7 separate regions of the Homo sapiens genome follow, and all the other regions are linked to region 6. The links are contacts of gene promoters, found by promoter capture Hi-C in blood cells and fetal thymus (Javierre and others, 2016). All regions are on one chromosome and are shown on one strand. The core of a region is centred on a gene start or on the middle of the fragment in contact, and the rest is flanking DNA. Distances in the headings are between cores, read along the strand shown.

What was found. Contacts are between HindIII fragments. The CHiCAGO score rates a contact against its expected background, and 5 or more counts as called.
Region 1: a contact is called between a fragment that was not itself captured here and the fragment with the promoter of MDN1 in region 6, in 1 of 17 cell types (erythroblasts). The highest score is 5.4, in erythroblasts.
Region 2: a contact is called between a fragment that was not itself captured here and the fragment with the promoter of MDN1 in region 6, in 2 of 17 cell types (activated CD4 T cells and fetal thymus). The highest score is 5.3, in activated CD4 T cells.
Region 3: a fragment that was not itself captured here is called in contact with the fragment with the promoter of MDN1 in region 6 in 2 of 17 cell types (activated CD4 T cells and total CD8 T cells); the score reaches 6.4 in activated CD4 T cells.
Region 4: a fragment that was not itself captured here is called in contact with the fragment with the promoter of MDN1 in region 6 in 1 of 17 cell types (activated CD4 T cells); the score reaches 5.3 in activated CD4 T cells.
Region 5: a fragment that was not itself captured here is called in contact with the fragment with the promoter of MDN1 in region 6 in 2 of 17 cell types (total B cells and activated CD4 T cells); the score reaches 5.4 in total B cells.
Region 7: a contact is called between a fragment that was not itself captured here and the fragment with the promoter of MDN1 in region 6, in 1 of 17 cell types (neutrophils). The highest score is 6.9, in neutrophils.

The regions. Positions count from the first base shown.
Region 1 is chr6:89,403,785-89,406,665 of GRCh38, reverse strand. All of the region lies in intron 1 of RRAGD (Ras related GTP binding D), which reads left to right. Among named protein-coding and RNA genes, the nearest start is that of RRAGD, 7.0 kb to the left of the region's middle. The HindIII fragment of the contact is 1,469 bases long and covers 832-2,300 here.
Region 2 is chr6:90,301,054-90,303,753 of GRCh38, reverse strand. All of the region lies in intron 1 of LOC105377891 (a long non-coding RNA gene), which reads right to left. Among named protein-coding and RNA genes, the nearest start is that of BACH2, 5.6 kb to the right of the region's middle. RefSeq lists a cis regulatory region at 606 and an enhancer at 534-678. The HindIII fragment of the contact is 2,935 bases long and covers 1-2,700 here.
Region 3 is chr6:90,280,138-90,282,837 of GRCh38, reverse strand. All of the region lies in intron 1 of BACH2 (BACH transcriptional regulator 2), which reads left to right. Among named protein-coding and RNA genes, the nearest start is that of BACH2, 15 kb to the left of the region's middle. The HindIII fragment of the contact is 6,848 bases long and covers 1-2,700 here.
Region 4 is chr6:90,175,600-90,178,299 of GRCh38, reverse strand. All of the region lies in intron 4 of BACH2 (BACH transcriptional regulator 2), which reads left to right. Among named protein-coding and RNA genes, the nearest start is that of BACH2, 120 kb to the left of the region's middle. The HindIII fragment of the contact is 903 bases long and covers 909-1,811 here.
Region 5 is chr6:90,251,627-90,254,371 of GRCh38, reverse strand. BACH2 (BACH transcriptional regulator 2) reads left to right here. Exons shown (of 9, transcript NM_021813.4): 3 at 1,782-1,859. Among named protein-coding and RNA genes, the nearest start is that of BACH2, 44 kb to the left of the region's middle. RefSeq lists an enhancer at 2,688-2,745. The HindIII fragment of the contact is 2,462 bases long and covers 164-2,625 here.
Region 6 is chr6:89,818,419-89,821,357 of GRCh38, reverse strand. It overlaps MDN1 (midasin AAA ATPase 1), which reads left to right and starts at 1,564. Exons shown (of 102, transcript NM_014611.3): 1 at 1,564-1,852. The coding sequence starts at 1,751. RefSeq lists enhancers at 627-1,246, 1,247-1,866, 1,521-1,910, 2,487-2,939. The HindIII fragment of the contact is 1,090 bases long and covers 822-1,911 here.
Region 7 is chr6:89,336,995-89,339,737 of GRCh38, reverse strand. UBE2J1 (ubiquitin conjugating enzyme E2 J1) reads left to right here. Exons shown (of 8, transcript NM_016021.3): 4 at 1,195-1,279; 5 at 1,428-1,533. Among named protein-coding and RNA genes, the nearest start is that of UBE2J1, 14 kb to the left of the region's middle. The HindIII fragment of the contact is 6,108 bases long and covers 1-2,743 here.

The DNA of each region.
Region 1 (2,881 bases), core at 317-2,816, 410 kb after region 6:
CCTGGGCTTGGAGAATGAGTGCAAGATTTTATTGAATAGAAGTAGCTCTCAGCAGATAGGGGAGCCAGAAGGGAGACGGTTTTTCCCTGGAGTCAGGCAGCTGTTTTCTGACCACTCCGGCCAAACTGGTGTGCTCCCAACGTCCTCTCGACGTCTAACTGCTTGAATCTTCTTCCACCAATCCACTCCTCTCGATGTCCAGCCGCTTGTGTGTTCCTCCACTGATGTGCTCCTCTCGACGTCCAGCTGCTTCTGTGTCTGCCTTGCTTGGGTCTTGGGTTTCTGTAGGCACAGGATGGGGATGTGGCAGGCCACGGTGGTCTTGCAACATTTGGGCCGGAAATGCCTGACCTCACCTAGGCCTGTGGGGGTGCAGCCCTAGCCAGGGACCATGCCCTTCTCTCTGCCTGGCACTTCCCTTCTCCCTTCCATACCGTTTAAAGGGACCACACCCTTCCCTTCCCAGCACTCCCCTTATCATTAGGACTGCTACTGAATACATATGTTAAGGAAATATTCATATGTGGTATTTATCATGTTTTTTAGTTATTTGCCAGTGTGACTTGAGAGGATTTCATAAAGATTTAGTTTTCACGCTAAATAAAAGAATCACCTTCAAAAATCTTTATGCCTTTGAAAAATATGTGTTCTGTTTGCATTTAATTTTCCTTACTAAGTAGTTAATCAAATGGACAGTGAATCTTCGTGATTTTTGCATAGCTTTTGTTAGTAGTAGTATTAGTCATATGATTCATTCCCACTTGGGTTGGAATTTCTTATTGAACTCCTGGGTCTTGAATGTATAAGTAGTTCCATTGATCAACGTAAGCTTCAGAAATTTAAAGGAGCCACAGAGAAAGCTGCAAATAGAAACACACCAGGGGCCTCTTCCTAAAACCATAAGCACATAGACGCTTAAGCGTTTGTTGATTCCACAGAATACTAATAGCGAAGAAATTCTAATTTTCCCTTAAGGTTGAGTGAGCCTCTTACTATAGTCACATTCCACTGAAGACCCTCTCGTTGCCTAGGCTTGGGGTGGGAAAAAAGAAGGGGAGTGTGTTTGTGTGCCTGCGTGTGTCCTGTGCGTGTGTCCTTGTGTGCCTGTGTGTGTGTCCGTGTGTATGCGTGTATGCTGATAGAGGAGGAAATGAAGGCTCATGGGCAAGGGGACATGTATGGGGTCACATAGCTAGTAAATGGAGAGTTGGGACTTGAATCCTAGTCTGACACTAACCTAGTACTTTTTCAACCATTCCATTTGCCATCACTTCGCCACTATGTTATCTCTTTTTTTTTTTTTTTTTTTTTTGAGACGGAGTCTTGCTCTGTCACCCAGGCTGGAGTGCAGTGGTGCGATCTCGGCTCACTGCAAGCTCCGCCTCCCAGGTTCACGCCATTCTCCTGCCTCAGCCTCCCCAGCAGCTGGGACTACAGGCGCACGCTGCCACACCTGGCTGATTTTTTTGTATTTTTTTTAGTAGAGACGGGTTTTCACCGTGTTAGCCAGGATGATCTCGATCTCCTGACCTCGTGATCCGCCCACCTTGGCCTCCCAAAGTGCTGGGATTACAGGTGTGAGCCACCGTGCCTGGCCACTATGTTATCTTAATTCTTGCATTAAATAGTTTATTTTCCTGTTTTGAGCCTATTCAAAGATGCTACCTCTCAGAGAACTCTCCTTAATTATAATACTTCTCAATAGAATTTCTGAAGTGCATTTCATATGATATCTCATTCTTCCTGTAGAGATCCTTGAGCTTAGGATGGCAGGGCCAACCTTAAGAGCTGTGTAAGGAGGTGAACATTGGCTTTCAATTCCCATTTTCCTGATTTCTGGTTTCTTCTTTGTTGTAAGCATTCCTAACCCTCAGATCAGTCAGGCAGGGTCCCCAGGCAGCCCTGTTGTACTCGAGGCACTAATCCATCTTTTTCTCCCTTCTTTTTTTACTAAGGCCTGTTGGTTTTTGACAGGGCTCTGCTGGTTACTGGATAATTCCGGATTAAGTGATTAGCCTTCAGGTGTTAAAGACTGATAATGGCTCAATTTGATGACCCCTCCCCATAGTGCTGTTCCTTGGGTGATTGAATTTCCTGGGGTCTACAGCAGTCCAGTTCGAAGGCTGAGATCTCTGGAAAATCTGGGTATTGATAGCACCAAGTGGAGGAGAGGTGAGGTCTATTTGGTGTCCCTGACCACAGTAAATAAACTTCACCTAGGCATAAAGCTGATCCTCTTGATACCCAGTTCCAAGTGCTGATCTGGGCCAAAGTCAGACATGAATTTTCTTTTTAAAGCTTCAGTTAATTTAGCCTCAAATTCTGCTCAGTCACTTTCATGTAATCATCCCAACAAACATCTATTGAGTGTTTGTTGTGGGTAAGCACTGAGGCCTCAGTTTGTTTTAACAACAATTTTAATTTTGTTAAGCTACAAACTGCAAAATCGTGTGTTTGTATTTTTCTATACTTTGTGTTACACAGGCCATTGGGCCCAAATTTTAGACTAATAGGAAAAAGCCCCCTTTGGAATATAATATTAAAATTTTACAGAAAGGCAGAAGTTGCTTACCAATACCTAATATCCCTTCAAATGACAACCGTTTTTTATTCTTCAAGCACGTGTGTAATAACCCATATGGGAAAAATGGCAAAAGGCCACATTGATGTCTTCTAAATATAGAGAATAAAGATTTAAATCAAGAAGTTGCCAGGCTCAGTGGCTAATGCCTGTAATCCCAACACTTTGGGATGCCAAGGTGGGAGGATTGCTTGAGCCCAGGTGTTCAAGACCAGCCTGGACAACATGGCGAGACCCTGCTTCTAACCACCATCCCCCAACAAAAAAAATGAAAAAATTAGCTAGGTGTGGTGGAGGTGG
Region 2 (2,700 bases), core at 127-2,626, 480 kb before region 6:
ATTCTGTTTAATGCTCATGTTCTGCCTTTCTTCCACCTACCCATGTTTACCCCTGCCCCAGAGTTCTGCATTCTTGCCATTTTTTTCCTCTACATCAGTGCTCCTTCTGTTATCTGCTCCATTACCTTACCTTCTACCTCTTCCTTCACTCAGATTCCTACCTTCCTGCCTTTCTCCATCTTTCCAGGCCCCCACTTCTCTCATTCATTCCCCCCCTCCTCTGCAGTGGGTCTAGAAGCTCCTTGCTGTCATATCACACAGCCCCCATCCCACCAGACCTTTCTTAATCATGGGATGCTATTCCCAGGCCCCTCATTGAAATGCCCTTTTCCTTACCTTCCTCAACTTCCCAGTCTCTGCTTGATTTTCTACCTTCCTGTTGGCTCCATTCCTGTCTTTTTCATAAACTCCTTGTTCTGTGCCCACATCCATCCCCAACCCAGCTATTCCTCAAACTTCAGCATTGAGGAAGTCAAACTTCCCTCCTTTTGACTCCACCCTTTACCAGAGTGATCTTAGCCTCCTCCTGCCTCCCAGGGCCAGTTCCCTCCTAGTCACACAGGCTAGAGGTCTCCATTCCCTCTTTCTCTTCTTCCTCCCTCTCCGTCTCCTCCCACAAGCAAATGACCCCTAAACCATAAGCGCTTCCCAGCCCTGCTCACTGCCTTAACATAGGCTGTAGGACTTGAGCTACTGTCTTATAGTCTCCAGCCTCTTCAGGCCCCTTCATATGGCCAATGCTGTGTTCTTTCCAAAACCAGATCTGATTATGCCTCTTTGGCAACTGGGGATCACTCATCGGCTTTCTACCCATGCAGCCAGGCTTTTCAGTGTTTCTGGGGAAATTAGAAGATAAACTCGGAGCATTTTCCTCAAGTACATCCTTCAGTACTTTGATTTTGGGTGTGGGAGAGGAACTTTTAGTCCTGATCGTCACAAATTGTTAAACTTTTTTAGTAAAATCAACCCATGTACTTCAAAGAGAACAAAAGAAGTTCAGGTGATTTTTTAACATGTAACAGGAAACTGCAAAGACATTTTATGCTTTGAAAAGGCAATTTGGGGCCATGTTCTCAGATCCCTAGGAAGTTAGCATTCCATTTTCTCTGCCATTCTGAGCACTTCACTGGAAAAGTTCAATGAGAATTTTGATCTGTGGATAAAATTACACCTTCATGCTGATTTCCCATGTCTACCTTTCCAGTCCCATATTCCACCACTGGCTGTCGCTGCTAACCATCTCAATTCCTGCACTTTCGCTACTCCAATTTTCCTGCCTGGAATGACCTTCCAACATTTTCTTTTCACAAAATCTCATCCTTCAGAATCCAGCTCTGTTGTCACCTCCTCCAGGAAGCCATCCCACATTCTCCTAAGCAAAGTCACTTGCCAGAAGACTTTTGTCCTATTCAGGCCCTTAGCATGGTGTGCTGTGAGGACTTCTTCACCGGTTCACCTTCCCCACTAGTCCAGGAGCCCTGACTTATGCAGTGTTTTATCTCCAAAAGTTAGAATAGTGCTAGTACATAGGTTGTGTATGCTCGAGGTGTGTCTGGAAAAAAAGAAAACAGGCAAGTAACAGGTACAAGGTCTTGGCCATTGGGAGGGGAAAGAAGGAAAAATCTACATTTTGAAAAAATGAGTCATGATCACAATGGCATTTTGTCACCATGGTACTTCAGTACTCCTTGCTAGCCATGACAGCAGGCACAATCCCCCATACCTTCCACTTCTGACCTATCCTTCTTGACATCACAACCTCTCACTCTTTCCCAACACTGCAAGATATGAATGCTATAGTCAGATGAAAGTGTAACCTCAAGGGGTCCTTCTGCATTAAAAGTCCAGCCACCTTCCCTCCTCTCTGACTCCTTCCTGGCCTTGAGGTTCAACTGAAATTCCACCTTCTCAGTGAAACCTTTTCTGGCTACTTTAACCTTCATAATTTGTTTTTCCTCTTAACATCTACAATACTTAAGTTCTTGTTAGAATTTAATTATGCATATTTTGAATTTTACAACATTTATTGGCTACCTTTATTACAGAAGTAATATATTTATATTACAGAAAATTTTTTTAAAAAGCAAAAGTAAAACCACTTATAGGCTCTTTATTTCAAGAGAACCACTTGAACACTGTGCATATAGCCTTCCAGATTTTTCCTATGCATGCACTGGCAATTTTTTTTCACAAATAGGATCCTATTGTAAATAGTTATACAAATTATTGTTAAACTATACTAACAAAATATTAATATATCAATATACATAAATTTTCATCACTAATTTTTTTCATTATTATTATTATTTTTGGTAGAGATGGGGTTTCACTATGTTGTCCAGGCTGGTCTCAAACTCCTGAGCTCAAGAAATTTGCCTGCTTCAGCCTCTCAAAGTGCTGGGATTATAGGCATGAGCCACCGTGCCCAGCCACCAATATTATTTTTGATGGATCCATGATATTCATATTTTATATATGAACCACCATTTATTTAGCCAATCATTTCCTGTAAGGCATTTGGATTTTTCCATTTTCTTTTTGCTATCATACAAAAAAGATCTGTACATTCTTAATTTTTTCATTAGTATAAATTATAACACATACAATTTCTATATAATTTTAAATATTAATATATAAAAGTAATAAAATCAAATACAAAATTACATTTTTCAATTGTTTCATGTATATTAGTTTTGACTC
Region 3 (2,700 bases), core at 8-2,507, 460 kb before region 6:
TTAAGAAACATGAACAAAACAAAAAATAATTGATGCTGGCAAGGTTATGGAGAAAAAGGAACACTTACACACTCTCGGTGGGAGTGTAAATCAGTTCAGCCATTGTGGAAGACTGTGATGATTGCTCAAAGTCCTAAAGATAGAAATACCATTCAACCCAGCAGTTTCATTACTGTGCATATACCCAAAGGAATATAAATTATTCTAAGACACATACACGTGTATGTTCGTTGCGGCACTATTCACAATAAGCAAAGACATGTAATCAACCTAAATGCCCATCAGTGATAGACTGGATAAAGAAAATGTGGTACATACACCATGGAATACTATGCAGCCATAAAAAAGAATGAGATCATGTCCTTTGCAGGGACATAGATGGAGCTGGGGGCCATTATCCTTAAGCGGACTAACACAGGAACAGAAAACCAAACTGCACATTCTCACTTATAAGTGGGAGCTAAATGATGAAAACGCATGGACATATAGAGGGGAACAACGGACACTGAGACCTATTAGAGGGTGGGAAGAGGGAGAGAATCAGGGAAAATAACTAATGGATACCAGGCCTAATACCTGAGTGATGAAATAATCTGTATAGCATACCTCCATGACACAAGTTTACCTGTGTAACAAACCAGTACATGTGCATACCCCTGAACTTAAAAGAAAAAACATGGACAAACATATTCAAAGAAGCATTGTTCATAAGAGCAAAAAACTGGAAGCAACCCAAATAAATGCCCATCAACATTGAATCGAATCAGCACATTTTGCTGTGAGGTATTTATACACTGTGATACTATTTGGCAATGAAAAATCAACTAGTATAACCACATATAGAAGGGTGTGGAGAGGCAGCATTTCTTGGTGGTCAAGAGGAAGGATTGTGCCTGGGTTCAGATTTTGGTTCTGCCACTTATTGTGTGACCTTGGATGAATTTCTGAACTTCAGTGTACCTTAGTTTTCTCATCTGTACATCAGGGAAAATGATGTCTACCTGATAGTGTTGTTAGGAAGTTTAAATGAGTCAATGTTTGTGACATGCTTAGGAGAATGACTGGCAGACAATACATTCTATATGTGTTTGTTAAACAAATAAAAGTGCATCAAAATGGATGAATCTTACAAACAATATGGAAAGAAAGAAGCAAGATAGAAGAATATATACAGTGTGATTCTATTCATGTAAAGTTCAAAAGCATGCAAAACTAAATATGTTATTTAGGGATACATACATAGATGGTAAAACTATAAAGAAAATTAATATGATTTAATATGATTGTCACAAAAAGCAGTATAACAGCTACCTCCAGAGGTGAAGGAGTGGGTATGATAGAGAAGGGGCTCACTGGGGGCTTCTGAGGTCCTGGCAGTGTTTTATCTCCCAACCTGGACAGTGGTCCCAAGGATATTCTTTCTTCTTAATTGTTTTTAAAAACTGTCTATGTTTTTTATATATGTGTGACCTATTAGTAAACATTTTAAAGGATTTATGTGAGTTGTTATAGTAGCAAGATGACATTAAATAGAAATAACTGTAAATTGCTACATTTTAGTTAAAAATAATTGTTCAAGTGCACATGGGAACACTTGCTTGGTATTATTTCCTCCACAACATTGTGAGCCACCAGTGCAGTGTGATTCTTACAGAAGGCGACACCTCCTTAAGGCCACATTAAGAGAGCTGTCCCCTTTAGATCAGGGAATGTAATGTTCTCACTCAACTACTCTCAGGTCTGGATGTCCCATGTGTGGGATGCTATGTCTTGTCCCAAGGGATTTATTTTAAGAAAGATTTTCACCACAGAGGGAGCATTTTCTGTGATAAAGATGTTTAGGGGTCTGGAAACCTATCAGTTCTAAGAGTGGCCAAAGGAAGTGGGGATTTTCAACATGGAGAAGAGGAGATGTTGGGAGAGAAAGAGTGTCTTCCATCACTAGAAGTGGAAGCAGCCTTTCCTTGTTGCTTCCCTCTCTGTAATATACAAGTCCCTCCCTGTAATGTCTACCCTTGGAGGCAGGTTTCAAGTCCTGGATACTGGAGATGCCCAAGCAGAGGCTGTGGGACCTCCCTTAGACTTGACTGGGGCCACAATACCCACTGCCTGGTCCCTGGACCAGCAGCATCGGCATCACCTGGAGCTTGTTAGAAATGAAGTCTCAGGGCCACCCACACCTACTGAGTCTGAATCTGCACTTTCTCAAGGTGCCCCTGGGGTCTCACATAAACATCAAAATTTGAGAGGCACTGGGCTAAATGTCTCTAAGATCCCTCATGGTTCTTAAGATTTAATGATTTTATAGAATAAACTGTATGTTCAACTGAAAATTATCAGTTCATATGGTGACATTATCAATTTAAAACACCTTGGGATGTTACATGTCCACAGAACCATGTAAGTATTTGTTGCTAAATTAGTTTTAAATGGATTTGTCCAGTTTCCCCCGATGTCAAAGTTAGGTTGCTTATGTATTTGGGCACCTATAAGAATTAAAATATTACATAACGTTGTATTTTCTTCTTTCTAACATACAGGATTAGATTCTTGCTTTAAAATTCTCCATTAATGTCTTCAAATTTTTCTTTTATATTCATTGAAAATTCAAAAGCAGATTAGGGTTCTGAATACCTGTTAAGAATACTCAAAAGGGATATTTAAATAAATATATCTCATTAATACATTGATTTTATATTT
Region 4 (2,700 bases), core at 111-2,610, 360 kb before region 6:
ATATACAGAATGTCATCTTAGGTAATAGTGAGGTGGTGAGGGAAGTGGAATGAAGCTGGGAAATTCAGTGTTAGAGCTGACATTTCATTCTCTCCGAGGTTTGTGAAAAGGCCACAGCAAACTTTGCATTTCCCCAGGAAGGAGGGCGGAGGTTCGGTTGGTATCACACCCTGCACATTATTTAAACACTAGCTTGTTGATTTTCTCTTCTGTGAAGAGCAGTTATAGAAAGCGTGTTTCTGGCTGACTTCATCCTGGTTCCCTGCTATTTTGGTCTACAGCACTTGGGAACAGGGAAAGTCCGGGTACCTGCTCTGTGCTGAGAACAAAAGTGGACATTTTCTTGACCAAAAGTGGCTTCTGGCATCCTTTTTCAGAAGCAGTTTTTCAGTGAAGGAAGAGATGTTTCAAGGCCAATATCTAGAAAGAGTACCTAGGTTTATGATTCACAGTACCTTCTTATCAGCTTTAGAGGTCCTTAAGAGTGAGGATATGACATGGGATCTGTTAAGGATGGCATTTCCCCCATGAGGAAAGTGAAGCCCAGAGAAAGCCTGCGACAGCCCAGAGTTGAGGTTAATCAGTGGCAGAACCAGAAACCCCATGTCCTAATGCCTCCTCTAGCATTCTGCATAAGCTTCACAGCCTTCAACCCAGGGTGTAAGTTGGGGGAGATTTCATACGATCCGATCCACATTTCGTGCATTACGTTTCACCAGAGGCCCAAGGAGCTAACGTAGGCAATGGTGTCAGAGACCCAAGTCCTAATCAGAATTCTACCACTTACTAACTGGAAGGTCCTGGGGATGTTAACCTCCTAAATCTCAGTTTCCTCGTTTGTAAAAGAGGTAATTATAAATAGTTCATTGAGTTGTTGTGGGAACTCACGTCATAACATTTGAAAAGCTTAGTATGGGATCTGCTGTACGGTAGGTGCTCAATAGATGATAGTTTTTTTATGGGTCAGGTGCTGTGCTACCCACTGGAAATACAAAGAAAAAATAAGATACCATCCCTGCCCTCAAGTAGTCTGCAGTGTAGTTGGGAAGACAGACATACATGTGAATAAAATAGTGTGCATTGAATGTAATGAGAGCAGCAAGGTGGTCCATAAAGCGAGCAGACTGCAGTTGTTTGAGGAGGCTTCAGAATGAAGTGTTGCACAGATTTTTGAAGATGAATAATAGTGTTAAGGCAGGCAAAGATTCTTCCTTTCAGAAGGAGAAAAGAGTACATAATGTGCTAATACCTGGACCCATGAAATAATATTTTAATATTAACATATTAAATTAACATATTAACATGGAGTTGGAATCAGTTTACAGTGCTGTGGTCTAAAGTCTCCAGCCAGAGAAGCCAGAAGGACGGCAGAAAGGAGGACAATCTAAGTGGCTTGGAGGCTACTCTGGGTGGATATGGGTCAATCCTGAAAGGTTTTTAAGCTGGGAAGTAATATGGTGATATTTGTGTTCTATAAAGATTACTCTGTGGCTACGTGAAGCATGAACTGGAGGAGGCAGGAGCAGGAGGGCTGGTAAGACATAATGAGGGCATTGCATCTGGTTTGGGCAATTGGACTCTGTCACCAAAACTGATTTGGAAGTGATGATGTTGAGCAGTTCTGACGCTTGTAGAAAAAGTGGAAGGAGGTAAGGGTAGGTGGGGATACACACACATTTTTTGGATGGGCCCCTCTTTTCTGCCCCTACATCCCTCTCCTCCGGTGTGTCGTTTCCCTGATCTACTTCAACCTGCAGATCTATCTAGCAGGCACCTCACTTGGGGATTTGTTCCCATACCAGCAAGAAGCTTATAAATTCCTCTGTTAGGCACCTTAAGCTGGTTGAGGTTGTCCAGGTGCCGTGAGGTGCCTCAGAGCTGCCCCTTCCCAGTGTGCACTTTCCACAGCTATCTCCTGTTTTTCGACCACTGAACTCTCAAACTCTCAGTATTTGCATATTCTTGTTTCCTGTAAATTTGCTCCCTCCTTCACTAATCTCTGCTCGCCCTGAGCTCCAGAATTGTCATTCCTGGAGACCTTGGTTAACATCTGAAACTCCTGCTTTGCTATGTGTTTTAAGAATGTACATGTTGGATATGTGATAAAATCAGTACAGCCACTGAAGGGGAAATGAGAACAGGGCTTGGAAGGAAGAAATTTGTTACATTCACAGGTCCCATAGAGGCGTGTCACCACATGCTACGCAGGGCCACAAGGGAAAACACCCGTGTTAGTCAGGAGGCAGAAGGCAGGAGCCAGGGGAGAGCTTGGGCCAGCCACAGCCTTTATTGGAGTTTCCAAGGGAAAGGCAAGGCAGGGCAGGGTTAACAGTTTAGAATTGCTAGTTGAAGTAGTTTGGTTAGGCTCCAAGCTTTCTGGGTGGTCCCTGCTTGCTTGGTACCTGGCTGTGGTATAGTAAAGGCAGAGAAATATTGCCTCTGAGGGCCAGATAGAGGAGGGGTGTCTCTAGATTGGTGAATTTTCTTGTCAAAGGCATGCTACCAGCCGGGCTCTTTGTTATCTCTGAGAATCGGCTAGCCTTGAAAGAGACAGTCTCTCTCTAGCCAGAAAGGTAGTTTTAAGATGTCAAAACATCTAATATGCAGAAAATACAAAATATGTAAAATACATAATGATACCTTCTATTCTTAGTCAACCTGTTTGCCTGTTTATTGATCTGAGATCTGATTTCCCAACCC
Region 5 (2,745 bases), core at 145-2,644, 430 kb before region 6:
ATATACCCATTTTAAAAATGTTTATTTAATATTTTTAAGTAATTTTTGAAAAGATCTAGGAAGATTCACATACTCATTTTTTCATGAACAAATTATGCTGTATACTTAATTGAGTCTGTCTGTAGGGATCATTTATTTCTATTCATCAACTCTTTACCAAGCTTCATACTAGATATTGAGATGATAGTCTATTGATTTTGTTTCTCTCTCTCATGTTTTTCTAGTATGTCTTATCTTTTGGGGTTTATTTCTGGCCCTGGAGATCATTCTTTTATGTCAGTTCTCAGCTAGTTGTGATTTGTTGCTAAATTACCTGCATTCAAGTTTTTATAAATGAATGTAGATATTTTGAAAACTATTTCTTTTAGGATACTAAACAGTAAGACAAAGATACACTGCACAATTGTGTACAAAAGGTCTTTTGGAATATGACTTCTTTGTTAAAAGCAATTTGTGCCATGATAGTTTAAAAAAAATAGTTCGGCAATGATGTTTTCATTTATGACTATGTACATACTGCATTTGAGCAGAGAGAAGTTTTTTATTATGACTAAGGCCTCTGTGTAACCAACTTCAGGTCAAATATGAAATATATGGTGTAACAAGTGCTGTGTTTTCTCTTTAAAATACACTTGGATTCTTCCACGAGGTATATTAAAAATGCTTTGACATCATTATTTCATCTTGAGTTACCCTTTCATTCACTAGCTTGGTTGGAGAAAATTAACTCTTCAATACATGATACAGAAAATCTGTTGATGCAGCCTCCCTCCAGTTCTTAGTATTTAATTTCATGAGGGACATAGCACTTTTCCCCATGTAATTACAGATTGGTAGAGTTGAGCAAGACCTTAAACATCCTGAAGTTTAACACCCATCAAATGCAGATACCTCTTCTAAGGTATCCTAATTTCTATATCGAAAATAATTCTAATTATCAGTTTACTTGGCAAATCTGCCATAATAAAGTCTTTTTCAAAGTTATCTATGCCCAGTTCCCCTCAATATTTCTCATAATATTAGTTCCACAGTCATTCTGATCTCACTCCTTTTTGCTTTCTCCAGTTTATCAGAAAGTTCCTTAAAAGGTAGTGGACAAATTATAGAAGTACCTCCCTTTTTTTTTTGAGGCAAGATTTCACTCCTGTCATCCAGGTTGGAGTACAATGGCGCAATCTTGGCTCACTGCACCCTTCACCTCCCAGGCTCAAGCAATTCTCCTGCCTCAGCCTCCCAAGTAGCTGGGTCTACAGTTGCATACCACCATGCCTAGCTAATTTGTGTATGTCTTGTAGAGACGAGTTTTGCCATGTTACCCAAGCTGGTCTTGAACTCCTTACCTCAAGTGGTCCGCCTGCTTTGGCCTCCCAAAGTGCTGGGATTATAGGCGTGAGCCACTGCACCTGGCCCTAAAGCTACTCTTTCTGAGCAGTTTGAGAGGGACTGTGGCTTATCTGGCCTTGAGAACAGTGTCTTTATTAATGCAGCCTAAGAGTACATTTTTGCAAACCCATCACACTGCCTGTATTGAATCAAGAGGCTGCTGGACCTCCATGTACTGACCATACAGGACCTCACATTTGAGCCTAGTAAACTTGACTATATTCATTTTGGTCTATTTTTAACCTTGTGAGAACTTTTGTAATCCTGTTTCTGGCATCCCTGGTGTTGTGTTTTTGTACCAATACAGCTTCTGGATCATTGTCTCAATCATTGATAAAAATGGGCAAATACAGACTTTCTGTCCAGAGTGATAATCATATCCATTACTTTTGCTTTAGATAAGAGTGTTGCTGTTGATCATCTTTGCCTGGGAAGTTGAATGATAAAGCCAGAAGAAAGCATGCTTTCTGATCATTGTAAGTTTTACTTTTAAGGAAAGAGACTAAAAAAATTTAGCAGGAAATTTAAATTTTATTAATATCATCTCATATACTTTAGAAGATCTAAAACTGTTAAAAGAAACAAAATGGTTTACACTGGAGCCTGGTTATAACCTTTCTTTGGTAGCCCATAGCTGTGGGGCCCATAGCTTTGGGGCCCAAAGCTCTCTTTGATTTGAGTCAGAGACCTTCCCATGTGCCCAGGAATTTTGATTATGGCAGGTGATATTATCAAGTCTTCATCAGATTTGGCTGGAGGGAAAAGCTGTCTGTCACCAAGTTGTGTGAATCTTTGTATTGCTAAAAAGGATACCCGGGCAGTCTTAAAACTGGTGCCTTATGTTATTTGAACTTTAAAATATTGTGATGTTCATGTTTGCTCAGGCTGGCTACTCCAGTTTTGTTACAACATAGTGCTGCTCAGACCATGGTTGAAAGTTTGATGCTAAAAAGCACAGTGTATTTGAGCATAGTCAATTCTAAAAAAAATTTTGTTTTCTTTCTTCCTTCCTTCTCCTTTCCTTTCTTCTTTCTGTCTTGAAATCTGTGGATTGAACTTTCCCACCCCTGGAAAAACAACTCAGAAAGTATATCATGTGTCATCACTATCATCTTCCTTTTATCAGTGCAGGTTTATAGAAAGTGTTCTCATATCATCCTGAATCATTTCTACAAACTATAAAACAAAATTAACTTTCCATTACAATCCTAACAATTGTAATAAATGCTCCTATTAGAAGCTTTTACTTCCATCCTGTGAAGTATATCATGCTGAGGGGAAAGTTGCATCTTCATTAGTCACCCATGACTTACTCCAGGTGTTACCCTCTAAGTTAGAAAGAGAGAGGGCAAAATACCCTGG
Region 6 (2,939 bases), core at 315-2,814:
ACAGGCATGCACCACCACACCTGGCTAATTTTTGTATTTTTAGTAGAGACAGGGTTTTACCATGTTGGTCAGGCTGGTCTCAAACTGCTGACCTCAGGTGATCTGCCCGCCTCGGCCTCCCAAAGTGCTGGGATTACAGGCGTGAGCCAAGGCACCCAGCCCTAATTTTTGTATTTTTAGTAGAGACAGGGTTTCACCATGTTGGCCAGACTGGTCTCCAACTCCTTATCTCGTGATCTGCCTGCCTTGCCTTGAGCCACTGCGCCCAGCCCACAAGTGCACTTTTAATGTTATGGACTCTACTATTTTTTATGACTTCCAGAATATGCTATAACTTACACCCCATAGTTTAATATTCCCAATTGAACATTTTCTTCCAATATCTGTATTAAGAAAACTGCAAGGGGTGTCTTTGTCACACTTAGTGAGGATTTCCGCAGGCTAGAGTCCTACAAGGGGAATTGCTGGGGCAGAATGTTAACTAGTTAGGTATGAGCAGAACAGGAGAGCGCTCCCCACCCCACACATACCAGGACTATTGGGTGACAATCAAACGATGGTCAGGCGGTTCTTAACTGTTTCTCTAACGTTCACCGGGGCCAGCGAAAGGCAGTCTCCTAATAGAAAACACCTGAAACTGATCAGTAGCTTCCCAGTAAGATCTCAGGAGTGGGGAGAAGCAATGCAAGTTCCCCAAAGTATGCCAACATATAAAACTTCAAGTCAACAGGTCAAGCTGCGCACTTGGTTTCTCAAGTCGCCTGCTTGGCAGTCTTCCAAGTTGTACTTTCCTCCTTTTCTTTCCGTCCCGTTCTAAAGCTTTTTGATAAACTTTTACTTCTATTCTGAAACTTGTCTAGGTCTATCCTGCCTTATGCCCTTCGTGGAATTATTTCTTCTGAGGAGGCAAGAACTAAGGTTACTGCTGACCCCTACCTATACAGGGGGTAACTGCCACCGCTAACAAGAAGGGGAGAATCAGCTTTTCTTTCTTTTTTTGAGACAGTAAAAGTCTGCTGTGTCGCGCGGCTGGAGTGCAGCTGCACGATCTCGGCTTACTGTAACCTCCGTCTCCCGGGTTCAAGCGATTCTCCTGCCTCAGCCTCCCGAGTAGCTGGGACTACAGGCGCGCGCCACCACGCCCGGCTAATTTTTGTATTTTTAGTAGAGAAGGGGGTTTCACCATGTTGCCCAGGCTGGTCTCGAACTGCTAACCTCAAGTGATCTGCCCTCCTCGGCCTCCCAAAATGCTGGGATAAAGACATGCGCCACCGCGCCCGGCCGAGAATCAGCTTTTCTCTCACATCTGATCTTTCCGTGTGTTAAGGCAGAAGCAAGGCACGGTGGGCTGAGACTCACACGCCCCCTCTTTCCTCCCCGGCCTAACGCACTCTTCTTTCTGTCCCACCACGTGCTGTGTTCGCGAGTCCCCATCACTCCTGCATCCAAACCGACTAGATTTTTGTTTCCATTTCCCTCCCGGAAAAGGCGGGACAGCGAAGACTGGCGTTTCCGCCGCTGAGGGGCTGAGGCCGGGAGGGCGCAGCGTAGCCGTCCCGAGCTGATGACGTCAAACGCCGTGTGCTCACCCACGTGTGGTGCCCCTCTCCCGGTGTAGGCGCTGGAGCTGAGGACGCCTTTCCTGCGGGCGTAGTTGCTGGCTGCTCGGGCACTGGGACCTCGGCGGCTTGGGGACGCTGGCCGCGAAGTAGGGAGCGCAGGTGGCCGCTCGGGGTGAGGGCCCTGGGTCATGGAGCACTTCTTGCTGGAGGTGGCAGCCGCGCCGCTGCGGTTAATCGCAGCCAAGAACGAGAAGAGCCGCAGTGAGTTGGGCAGGTTCTTGGCCAAGCAGGTAAGACGTGAAGGGAGAGGGAAAGCGCCGGAACGACTGGGTCGCCCCACTAGTAAGCTTCCTGCGCTCCCCCGCCGATACTCGCCGCTTTAAGTGGGGAGTGGTGCAGCCTCAGGTCAAGCTGGCCCCCTCCTGTGGGCTGGCGCAGGTCGTGGAGGTTTCCGAGCGTGTTTGAGGCGATTGGAAGGAGTCTTTTGTTTTTATCTGGGGGAGCCTTCCAGTACCCTTCCCATCGCCTCTCACCCCTATGCAAGCGCTTTGGCTGCTTGTGGCAGAGGTGGCCTTCCCAAAGGAATGTGGTTTGTTTTTCTGAAATTGAGGTTGCGTTTCTGCCGTTTTGACAAGTGTACGTATCACCTAAGTGTGCGTAGTGCAGCCACTCCTGTTAGTTTGGGGAACCATCGACAAATACTGATTGCATTCCTGCTGTGCGTAAGGAACGGTGTGGCGCTGTGAGAAAGTGGATAGATAAATTCGTTACGATCTCTGCCATGAGGGAAATTTGCATCTGTTTTTGGAGACAGTTCGTAAACACTTACAACAGCTGAAGTACAGAGCAAGACAGCTCATACTCACTGTAACTAACTATACAAATTATAAGGTTAATTAGAGTTTTCTGGGAAATAGGTCTTCGGGCTTTTAAGAACCTTCTCATTGACTCCTTCTATCTGAGTTGAAGACACTTTTTTTTTTTTTTTGAGACGGAGTCTCGCTGTGTCGCCAGGCTGGAGTGCAGTGGCGCGATCTCGGCTTACTGCACCCTCCGCCTCCCGGGTTCAGGCGATTCTCCTGCCTCACCCTCTCAGTAGCTGGGATTACAGGCGAGCGCCACCATGCCTAGCTACTTTTTGTATTTTTAGTAGAGACGGGGTTTCACCATGTTGGCCAGGATGGTCTCGATCTCTTGACCTCGTGATCCACCCGCCTCAGCCTCCCAAAGTGCTGGGATTACAGGCGTGAGCCACGGGACAGGTGAGTGTGGTCCCAGGTACTTGGGTCCCAGGTGTGGCTAATTAAAAAAAAAATTTTTTTTTTGTAGTTGTAAGGTCCCCCTTTGTTGCCCCGACTGGTCTGGAACCCCTGGGCT
Region 7 (2,743 bases), core at 128-2,627, 480 kb after region 6:
ATGCCTGGCCTCTTTTAGATTCTTAACTGAGCCTAGCTCCATACTAGGCACAGGGTAGGACATTAGTAAATCCTCTCCCCTCCCCTCCCCTCCCCCACTCCTTCCCTCCTCCCCTTCCCCCTCCCCTCTCCTTCCCCCCTCTCCTTCCCCCTTCCCCTCCCCACCCCTCTTCCCTCCCCATCCCTTCCCCCCTCCCCTCCCCACTTCCCTCCCTTCCCCCCTCCCCTCCCCTCTCTCCTCCCCCATCCCCTCTCCTCCCCCCTCCCCCCCTCTCCTCCCCTCCTCTCCTCTTTTTTTTTCTTTTCTTGGGGACAGGGTCTCACACTGTCACCCAGGCTGGCATGCAGCAATGCAGTCATAGTTCACTGTGGCCTTGAACTCCTGGGCTCAAGTAATCTTCCTGTCTTAGCCTCCCAAGTAGGTAGGACTAGAGGCACATGCCACCACTCCTGGCTAATTTTCTTTCTTTTCTTTTTTTGGTGACAGTGTCTCACTAAGTTGCTCAAGCTGGCCTTGAACTCCTGGCCTCAAGTGATCCTCCTGCCTCAGTCTCCCAGAGTGCTAGGATTACAGGCGTGAGCCACTTCGCTGGCCAGTAAAACTTTACATGTTAATTATTTAGATTTCACTTGTGCAACTCAGTTTCAAAAGGTGCTGTAAAACACCTTCTAAAAACAGCTTTTATTATTCAGCATCCAACAAGTATTTTTGGAGTCTATAAGGACAAAAAATCTGTGTCCCATGAGAGGTTACATTTAAAAAAAAATCTTTTTGGCCGGGCGCGGTGGCTCATGCCTGTAATCCCAGCACTTTGGGAGGCCAAGGTGGGCAGATCACAAGGTCAGGATATCGAGACCATCCTGGCTAACACGGTGAAACCCCGTCTCTACTAAAAATACAAAACATTAGCCAGGCCTGGTGGCAGGCGCCTGTAGTTCCAGCTACTTGGGAGGCTGAGGCAGGAGAATGGCGTGAACCCGGGAGGTGGATCTTGCAGTGAGCTGATATCACACCACTGCACTCCAGCCTGGGTGACAGAGCGAGACTCCATCTCAAAAAAAAAAAAAAAAAAAAAAAAAACAAACTTTTTAAGATAATCTCTAAAATTATTATATATAAATAGTATATTTTTACAGAAAGTATAAACATTAAGCACATGTATTTAATTTTCTAAATGCATTGTTTATTCCTCAGGCTAATGGTCGATTTGAAGTGGGCAAGAAAATCTGTTTGAGCATCTCAGGCCATCATCCTGAAACTTGGCAGCCTTCGTGGAGTAGTAAGTGTTAATTTATAGTGAATATAAATCTCATAACTTCAGTCAATTCATAGTTATGAAGTATAATACTCTGATTTTTTCTTTTTCCAGAATAAACCCAGTTGCTTTTACAAAGCAATTTAGATTGATATTTACTTTTTTATTTCAGTAAGGACAGCATTATTAGCCATCATTGGGTTTATGCCAACAAAAGGAGAGGGAGCCATAGGTTCTCTAGATTACACTCCTGAGGAAAGAAGAGCACTTGCCAAAAAGTAAGTTTTGCATTTCATTCTTCTTGAGGTCTGAATAGTATTCAGGGTAATGGCTATTAGGAGGTAGGGCCTACCTCTTACTATGTGACTTATTTTCTGAGTGACTGTAGCTACAGGATCTTATCTCAGTTTTGCTCTTTTAGGAATTCAGTTGTAATAATTTCCTTGGAGTGACCAGAATCTAAGTAATTTATTTAATGCTATCTAGTCTTAAAAAGTAGTTGATACTATTTCACTATTTTTAAAAAATTCAGTGGGAGATATATTCTCCTGGAAAACAATACCAGTCATTTGTTTCCACTATGGCATTATAGATGGAAAAGAACCAGAGCAATTATTTGTAGCTTTCCACAAGATTACAAACCTCTTGAGGGCCAAGAGGTAATCCACTTTATCCATCTTTGCATCTAGCTCATAGCAAGTGCTTAATAAATGATCTGGAATAAAGCAAAAGAGATTTTATCAAGTTGTGATTGCCCAGTGGCAATCACAAACAGAGAAGTGATGCCTTCTCTGTTTTTTTCAGGTGCAGGTGCACTTTTGTCTATATGACCAAGATCAGTCCTTCCATTCAGAGTAGCCCCTCTTTGAGTAGTGCTGATACCTAATTTTTGATGTTGATAATTTTTCTGCTCTGGAGTCTGCTGCCTACCACCCTTCAGACATATTATGTTAATTAAATTATATCATATTTTACCCTAGCACACCCCAGAGTAGGCCCTCTACAGATATTTGCTAAATCAGTTAGATTTTAGCATCTGGAAGATTTGGTAGACTTCTTGGTCTTATAAGCAACTTTTCTTTTTAAACCTTATTTCCAAACTATGGGTATGTACTTTATTTATACAGCTCTTCATAGATTACACTATGTACTTTGAATACATAGTATTTGTTTTCATTCGATTTACTACGTTGGTTTTTTTATCTTGATGCCTTTATCCAGTTGATTTCATGTGCGAGGTAAAAAAAAAAAAAAAAGAACTGGAGTTCTTGTTCTTCTAGGCTTCTCACTGTATATTCTAGATTCTCAGTCTATAATAGAAACCTTTTAAAAAATGATTTTGGGCCGGGCATGGTGGCTCACACTTGTAATCCCAGCTCTTTGGCAGGCCAAGACAGGTGGATTGCTTGAGTTCAGGAGTTCGAGACCAGCCTGGGTAAAATGGCGAAACTGCAGCTCTACAAAAAAATACAAAAATTAGCTGGGCGT